Regions from separate parts of the Homo sapiens genome. Here all the other regions are linked to region 3. The links are contacts of gene promoters, found by promoter capture Hi-C in human tissues and cell types (Jung and others, 2019). All regions are on one chromosome and are shown on one strand. Each heading gives the region's core, a stretch centred on a gene start or on the middle of the fragment in contact. The rest is flanking DNA. Distances are from core to core; before and after follow the strand shown. Region 1 overlaps PHKB (phosphorylase kinase regulatory subunit beta). Region 2 overlaps PHKB (phosphorylase kinase regulatory subunit beta). Region 3 holds the start of DNAJA2 (DnaJ heat shock protein family (Hsp40) member A2).

Region 1 (2,700 bases), core at 7-2,506, 650 kb after region 3:
CCTAGCAAAATGGTTAAGAACACAGGAGGCACACTGCATGCTTCTGAATCCAACCTTGGGCTTAGCAGTTGTTGTTACTTGTATTTTGATAGTTCCAATGCAGACATGACAATTAATTGAGGTGCCCAGTAGTTAATATAAATAAAAGATGCAAGATTGTATTCTATTGAACATGGTTCATGGTGGAAATTAACCTATGGGAGCAGACAATTCTTGGAAGGCCAGGCTCCAGGCTTCATTCTTTCCCACAGTATAGGTAATGCAGATGCTGGAGTAAAGAGATGTTCTGGCCGGGCATGGTGGCTCACGCCTGTAATCCCAGCACTTGGGGAGGCCGAGGCAAGTGGATCACGAGGTCAGGAGTTCAAGACCAGCCTGGCCAACATGGTGAAACCCCGTCTCTACTAAAAATACAAAAATTAGCCAGGTGTGGTGGCGTGTACTTGTAGTCCCAGCTACTCGGGAGGCTGAAGCAGGAGAATTGCTTGAACCTAGGAGGCAGAGGTTGCAGTGAGCCAAGATTGTGCCACTGCAGTTCAGCCTGGGCAACAGAGTGAGACTCTGTCTCAAAAAAATAAAAAATATAAAAAAAAAGAGATGTTCTAGGAAGGGCAGGACAGTATAATCTAGCAAGAAGTTTAAAATGGTATAAAGTGTAAAGAATTTTGATTTCTTGGTTCAGGAAGGCTGACTACCTCATTGGCTGGGAGGAGCAGCAAAGCACTGGCAGAAATTCAGGTACTAGTTCTTTAGACCTTGTGTGATTCACTGCAGTATAATCTGGGGAAGGACTCCTAGCATCTCTGGAGTGTAGTTCTCTAATCTGTAAAATTATTTGGCTGGGTTTAATTCGTAAATCCCCTTCCAGCGCTTCTGTTGCTGGCTTCCATAATCTAGGTTATTGGTAACCTTTAAGTGACTTTAGTGGAGTAGTGTGCCCAGTCGCCAGACTGTAGGGAGTTAAAAAGGAATTATATGGTGGAAGACCATCTGCTCAGGAAGTTGAGTTTACTGCAATCCAAGAAAGGTTATAAACCCCTCCTAATTTGGTAGATACATTATATAGCACTCCTACAATATGGACTTGTAGCGATTTCCCTTTTTAAAGTTTTGTTCTAAATCTATTCAGTTTTTAAAGATTTATTAGTCTTTAAAAAGATTTAAGGATATTTAAGGTGATTTAAGGAAATCATGCATGTGGCTCAGTTTTATCTGGCTCAGTGTGTTCTAATGCTCTCAAATAGTTTAACCAGTTTGAGACATAATTTCTACTTAAAAGATTAAAAAATAACAACAACAACTTCACTAGCTTGGCAAAGAAATAAAGCGTTTGTGTGGGACCAAAAACCCAAGCATGGGAGTGAATTTGAGTACTGAATAGAAGTTCTTATGATTATCTTAGTAAAACAGAATAAAATAGTCAAGGCATCAAAGATGCTTCTGAGAGAGCCTAGCCTGAATATGCCACAGCCGCACAGAGTTTCTCCTCAGGTAATTCTGTCTGCTGTCTTGAAGGGTAATGAAGAGTCTCTTATCAATTGGTATTTATACCTGAGCCAATTAAAATTCAATGCCTTGATAAAAAAAATCCAGAACTGAGAAAAGTTGAATTGGAAGTCAAAAAAATGAGCTTAAACACATTTAATAACATCATTCTAATTAACCCATTTAACCTATTAAAATTAAAAGTTTCAATAATAGGCATGATGTATAATGAAATATTTCATCTACAGGATGGAAACTTCTTATACTCATGGCTAAAATGTAAAAGAAGGAAAAATAGAAGTAAGAAAGCAAGATTTATGGTCCAGAATAAAGATATACAAGGATTATTATGATCTAGTATTGTTTTAATGAATCTATATTTCTGACATTTTTCTCTAAGGAAAGAAATCTCAGTTATTCATAAATATGAATAAATTTGTGAACTTAACCTGAAATTTACCTACTTCACGTTTTTTCCTGTTTTGAATCTATTCACATTTTTAAAGGTCTAGTGATCTTTGAAGAAAACCTATCAATTAACGCCTTCTAGCTCCACCTTGTTTAATAATCTATATCCTGACAAGTTGCCCCCTTCTAAAACAAAGGATTGGGCTTTGGGAGTGTCTACTTTCTTGAGGAATGATTTTTCTCTCATGAGGTCCTTGGAGAGTTCCATGTATTTTTGCTGTCATGCAGGTGAATAAAATACAAGTATTTTTGGTCAGCTACTTGAGGCAATATTTTACTTTAATGGCAGAATTATTATGATAGAGCAGATCATGTGTATTGACACACCCTTGAGAGAATTCAGTTTCGCATTCAGTGACACCCAAGCTTTGAATCTGTGAAGTAGACTAGCCCATTTAATATGCCAATTAAAATGGATTGATCTACTTTGACAGTCTTTGGAGAAAAGGCCAATATGAAAGGAATGCTTTTTAGTCATAAGAGCTTATTTTCTGTGCTGCAAGTTTCCAAATTGAGGATGAAAGTCAGTACTTGTTTGCTAAATCATGTACATATTTATATAGATCTCAGCTAAAAACATATAGTACACTTGGTCTCTCATTTTTCAAATTAATGAGGAAGTGGGAGTTTCATGCTTTCTCCTCTAAATATACAAATGCATAGAATTTTGCATGAATTACTTTCTTAAAGATCAATGAACACTGCATATATGTGTAATAAATTTTTGTTTTTAAGGAAGTAATATAG
Region 2 (2,700 bases), core at 22-2,521, 680 kb after region 3:
GAACTTTTGGACCCAGTCTTCCTATGTGGAGCGTCTGTGAATCCCAGCAGTGTCTGGATCTTAGGGTCCTGAGGCTCTTTCCTGTTCTCTTTGTCCTAATGGATTTATACCTTAGTGGGTTTATACCTTAAACATTTTTTTCCACTATCATTTTTGGGATTTTAGGAAAAACAGGAGTTAAAGATATGTCTTGGTCATATTAACCAGAAATCTACTTTTGATTTTATGCTTAAGTGTCCCTCCCATTCCAGGATGTACCTAGGCATTTTTCTATTCCTTTTAAGAAATATGTGGGCCTATATGGAAAAAAAAGACCTAGATAATTTTGAAGAGAAATATAAGATTTGAATAAATAATGGGCTATACCATATTCTTGGATGAAAAGACTATTACAAAAATGTGAGTACCTCCTAAATTAGTCTACTAGTTTATTATAATCATGGTAATTTCAGTGGAGTAGAGCTTTTGGCAATTTCATATGGTTAAGGACAAAAATCAGAGTTCAGGGCCCACCAGGGAAGAGGGATTTCAATAAATACTTCAGACTTCCAGATGACCCTCTTGAAAAGCTATACCTTTGACTAAAAGGGAATCAGAAATAGTTCACTCCTCACAAAGAGTAGTAGATAACATTATCCAGAACCTCAAAGTATTTCTACAAATATGTGCAGTGTCTGTCTTTCATTCAAAATTATCAGGCATGCCACGAGTGATCAAACAACAGAGAGCCACCTACATTGGTTCAGATATTAGAGTTATCAGACATAGACGTCAGAATAACTACGATCAATATGCTTAACTGGCCATCAGAGAAATGCACATCAAAACCACAAAGAGATACCATCTCACACCAGTTAAAATGGCGATCATTAAAAAGTCAGGAAACAACAGGTGCTGGAGAGGATGTGGAGAAATAGGAACACTTTTACACTGTTGGTGGGACTGTAAACTAGTTCAACCATTGTGGATGTCGGTGTGGCGATTCCTCAAGGATCTAGAACTGGAAATACCATTTGACCCAGCCATCCCATTACTGGGTATATACCCAAAGGATTATAAATCATGCTACTATAAAGACACATGCACACATATGTTTATTGCGACACTATTCACAATAGCAAAGACTTGGAACCAACCCAAATGTCCAACAATGATAGACTGGATTAAGAAAATGTGGCACATATACACCATGGAATACTATGCAGCCATAAAAAAGGATGAGTTCATGTCCTTTGTAGGGACATGGATGAAGCTGGAAACCATCATTCTCAGCAAACTATCGCAAGGACGGAAAACCGAACACCACATGTTCTCACTCATAGGTGCGAATTGAACAATGAGAACACTTGGACACAGGATGGGGAACATCACACACCAGGGCCTGTTGTGTGGTGGGGGGAGGGGGGAGGGATAGCATTAGGAGATATACCTAATGCTAAATGACGAGTTAATGGGTGCAGCACACCAACATGGCACATGTATACATATGTAACAAACCTGCATGTTGTGCACATGTACCCCAAAAACTTAAAATATAATAAAAAAATAAATAAAGAAAAGAAAAAAATTAGATAACAAGTTGGAGAATTTTATTAGAAACTTTGATAGTACATTTAAAAAGAATCAAATAGAAATTCTAAATGAAAAATTCAGTCACCAAAATTGAGAAGTCAGTGAAACAATGTAGTACTTATTCACTATAATTGATGGCAGAGGATAGGTAAACTCAGAAAAACACCCCAGTATACACACAGGAACTTAAAATAATATGTAATCAAGGAAACAATAAATTAATGGTGGATGTATAGATTATTTAATATATACTTTGGGAAAAATTAAGGCAGTTAGAGTATCACCTCACATCGTACACCAAAATACATTTCAGGTGGATTAAATGACTTAATTTTAAAAGATGTTTATTTTAAGAAGAAATCAAAATACTTTCAAGCTTTTACTTTGGGCATATCATAAGCTATCAGTTTTAGCCTCTGATGTTGACAAATTCTTAGTTTTGTGATGACTTTGAGTTGAAAATAATTTTACTTTAAAGTTTAATATTCTGCCATGTTGTGGAGAGTTTTCATTTCATTTGAAGAGTCATAGACAAATTACAAAGACAGTGCAAAGTGTGGTGATTTTCTCTCAAGTCAAATTGAAGGTTTCTCCTTTTCTTTTTGTTTTATTTTAATGTCAAGCACAGCATAGAGTTTTAAAGTCAGAATGATATCCTTTTTAATCCTGTGTCATCTGAAATTGGGAAACTTTTTGCTTATATATCCTTATACACAAAGCTCAAGTTGGTCAAGACCTTAAGATATTTCATCTAATCTTCTCATTTTACAAACAGAACTAGAGCTCTTTGTAGGACAGTAACTGTCTGTAGTCCTAAGACTAGTTACTGCAGAAGGGAATAGAATTCATGGTTTCCCATTCCTAGTTCACTACTTTTTATACTCAAGCACCTGAACTTTCATCACTTTCTTTTCAGCAGCAGAGTTTAATGTCTACTTCACTACCTATCTCATTTTCCCATTTTTAGTTGTGTTTCAGAAATTATAGGAGAAAGAGGTCAGTAGTTTTGTCATGATTCAAAGAGTTTTACTTTTTTTTTTTTTTAATTGAGACTGAGTCTCACTCTGTTGCCCAGGCTGGAGTGCAGTGGCGCGATCTTGGCTCACTGCAACCTCCACCTCCCAGGTT
Region 3 (2,700 bases), core at 115-2,614:
AGATAAATGACTGTTAAGCTTTGCGGACTGCAAAACATTACTATAAATCAAGCTAAAGTCACAATTCCTGCTCCCGATGGCTCACGCCTTCCTTCTAACTGTAACATCATGAAAAAGTAAAGGTGGTCCTAGTTAGCGTCTTTTGGTGTTTTATTTGCACGTGGTGGTTAACTGGGGTCGTGGTGGCAACTTCGGTGGTAGAGAAGTTGCACACACTCTCAACGAGGTGTTTGGGTCCTAAAGCACTTAAATCTTCATTCACGGAGGCTCGTGAATTATATAATACAGACTAGCATTTCCGGTAAGGTAACAGGAAGTCCACTGTACTCTTCTCACTGCCTAAGGAGCATTCTCATTTTTCTCGGCTTACAAATCTGGATGCTCTTAGCCTGGTGAGGATGCTGTGGGGCTTAAATGCCTCGTGTGCTTTGAAATCCTGAGATGAAAGATATCGCAGCATTGCAAATAGCAATAATAAGGCCTTCTATTTATGTTTACTGTACACTCAGGCGTTTGGCTGGGACCACGGCTTATTCCTAAGCAGGTACAGGACATTAGCATTACCTGCCCAAAGAACAATGCATCCAAACACAGACCCAGCTACCTCCGGGTCAATGGGCGAGGGACGCAGAGAGGGAGGAGCTCCCGCAGCCGGCGGCCGCGGAACCCAGGAAACAACCCCATCCGCCCGAGGCGCTCTGTGGGGGCGGCCTCGACCTCCCCGCCGTTCCTCCCCGCGGAGCACCAGACCCGGGGCCGACGGCCGCGGGGCGGACAGCTTCTCTCTCGGGGCCGGGATGCGCTGAGCACCTCGGTCCAACCTGTTTTTCCGGGGTGGTGACCTCGACGCGAAGGACCGGGCGAGCTGCTGCCTCCCGGGGGATACCAGCCCCCGGCGCTCGTTCAAGGAGGGAGGAAGGAAGGGCTCCCATCGTGTTTGCGCAGGAGTGAGTTTTATTTGCTGCATCTGCGGGCGGGCGGGGCCGGCGGCCCCAAGGTCAGCCGAGGCCGGAGTGCGCGGCTCGCGGCGAGGCCGGTCCCGCCGCCGCCGCCGACTCCCAGCCCGGGCCAGTCACGGCCGGCGCCGGCTCGCGGGCAGCCCAGTAGCGCGGCCTGGCTGAAGAAGACATCCCTGGCCGCGCAGGCCCCGCGCCCCTCACACCCGCCCGGCCCGCTCCCAGATACCTTCTTCAGCTCGTTCTCGCTGGCGCCGGGCGGGACGCCCAGGATGTCGTACAGCTTCGTGTCAGCCACGTTAGCCATGGCGGCCGGCCGGGCAGTGCTCGGGGAGAAGGTGGCGAAGCAGACAGAGCGGAGTCGGGCCCACAAGCGGCGTCGGCGGCGGCACAGGCCGAGGGAGACAGCGAGGGGGAAGCGGGGGCGGGGCTGAACTTTGACCCAGCGCACGGTGCGCCGTGACGTCGCTGTGCAGAGCCCGCCCCCGAGCGCCCGAGGCGCGGCCACTGGGGTCGAAGTATTGAAGAGTGGGCCAGGTTCTCTGTTTTCCTCCAGGTCCAGGCGGCTGGGCAGGGCCAACGTAGGAAATGAAGAACTGTGCACGGCGCACCCCAGGAATTCAGCTTCCTCTCAAAAGCCATGGTTGCGAGGTCGCGTGTTTAACCTCGCACTGGCTGCTGAGGGAATTAACAGGCCTGCGCAGCAGCTTCGTTAGCTTCGAAAGAAAATGGGCCCCGGCTCCCGCAGGAGGCCCGCCTGGCGCGCAGATGTCGTTATTAGAATCCGGGACGTCGGTGGACCCTCTGGGTCTGGCTCCCTCGGGGCTTACGATGAAAAAAACTGGGGGGCGCGTGTGTGTGTATGTTGTGTTTTATATTATGAGAATTCTGAAACATTTAGCAGAAGCAGTATATTACTCCCCATAGTGCAGTTAGCTACCTTTTACCTGTTTCATTGGCTCCACCATACATTTCTAGTGTTTTAAGGGAAACCGTTTCATTCATAAATACCCTAAGTGTATATATTTAATATCTAAGAGACAACTTTTAAAGGCATAACGATGTAATCTCATCTAATGAAATTAACAATTCCTTAATCTAATTCCCAGTCCATATTTAGGTTTTTCAGATGATCTCATGTCCTTTTACAATTGGTTTGTGGCATCCGGGTCCAAACCAAGGTCCACATGTTGCATCTGGACCACGTGTTTAAGCCTCTTACTTGATAGCTTTAAAATTAGCTAACACCAGAGGTTTAGATGGTGTAAGGCAAGTCTGGCCACCAGGTGACTTGATTTACATTCGTTTTAGTTTCGCTCAGAAAGTATGCTGTGCATCTACCAAGTGCTATGATGTACAGAGGCCTGGTCCGGGGAGAGGAGTGTTACAAAAGTGCCTGCCTTCAACCCATTTACGGTTTATGGAGACAGAAAAGTAAGGTTTTCTGATCCCTTGGAACCTGAACTGATAGCAAAGACTTCAGCATAAGCATCTCACTCAGGATAATGTTTCTTCCTTGGCGTTCCCTTTGACCTAGTTGTGGAGGGCCTGAATTCCATGACAAGGACTCTGAAATTTAGCTTGAAAACCCTAAGAGTAATCAGTGATAAGTCATTAATAGTCCTTAAACCCTTTTCCTCAAATCCCATCTGAAATCCTGCTCCCTCTGTGAAGTCTTCCTTTACTGGGCACTGGTGAACACTGCTATCTCATTCGAGTTCCCACCACCCTTCGTTTGTACCTT

The links. The method cuts DNA at HindIII sites, captures the fragments that hold promoters and counts their contacts. A contact is called where the count stands out against the background at its distance.
Region 1: a contact is called between a fragment that was not itself captured here and the fragment with the promoter of DNAJA2 in region 3, in 1 of the 25 tissues and cell types used here (lymphoblastoid cells).
Region 2: a contact is called between a fragment that was not itself captured here and the fragment with the promoter of DNAJA2 in region 3, in 1 of the 25 tissues and cell types used here (dorsolateral prefrontal cortex).

The regions. Positions count from the first base shown.
Region 1 is chr16:47,620,306-47,623,005 of GRCh38, forward strand. All of the region lies in intron 14 of PHKB (phosphorylase kinase regulatory subunit beta), which reads left to right. Among named protein-coding and RNA genes, the nearest start is that of PHKB, 160 kb to the left of the region's middle. The HindIII fragment of the contact is 7,108 bases long and covers 1-2,700 here.
Region 2 is chr16:47,653,415-47,656,114 of GRCh38, forward strand. All of the region lies in intron 20 of PHKB (phosphorylase kinase regulatory subunit beta), which reads left to right. Among named protein-coding and RNA genes, the nearest start is that of PHKB, 190 kb to the left of the region's middle. The HindIII fragment of the contact is 5,173 bases long and covers 1-2,700 here.
Region 3 is chr16:46,972,310-46,975,009 of GRCh38, forward strand. DNAJA2 (DnaJ heat shock protein family (Hsp40) member A2) reads right to left here and starts at 1,365. Exons shown (of 9, transcript NM_005880.4): 1 at 1,186-1,365. The coding sequence starts at 1,263. DNAJA2-DT (DNAJA2 divergent transcript) reads left to right here and starts at 1,463. Exons shown (of 2, transcript NR_186372.1): 1 at 1,463-1,816. RefSeq lists silencers at 237-316, 667-736, 767-816, 967-1,046, 1,077-1,126 and enhancers at 1,557-1,626, 1,687-1,776. The HindIII fragment of the contact is 16,518 bases long and covers 1-2,700 here.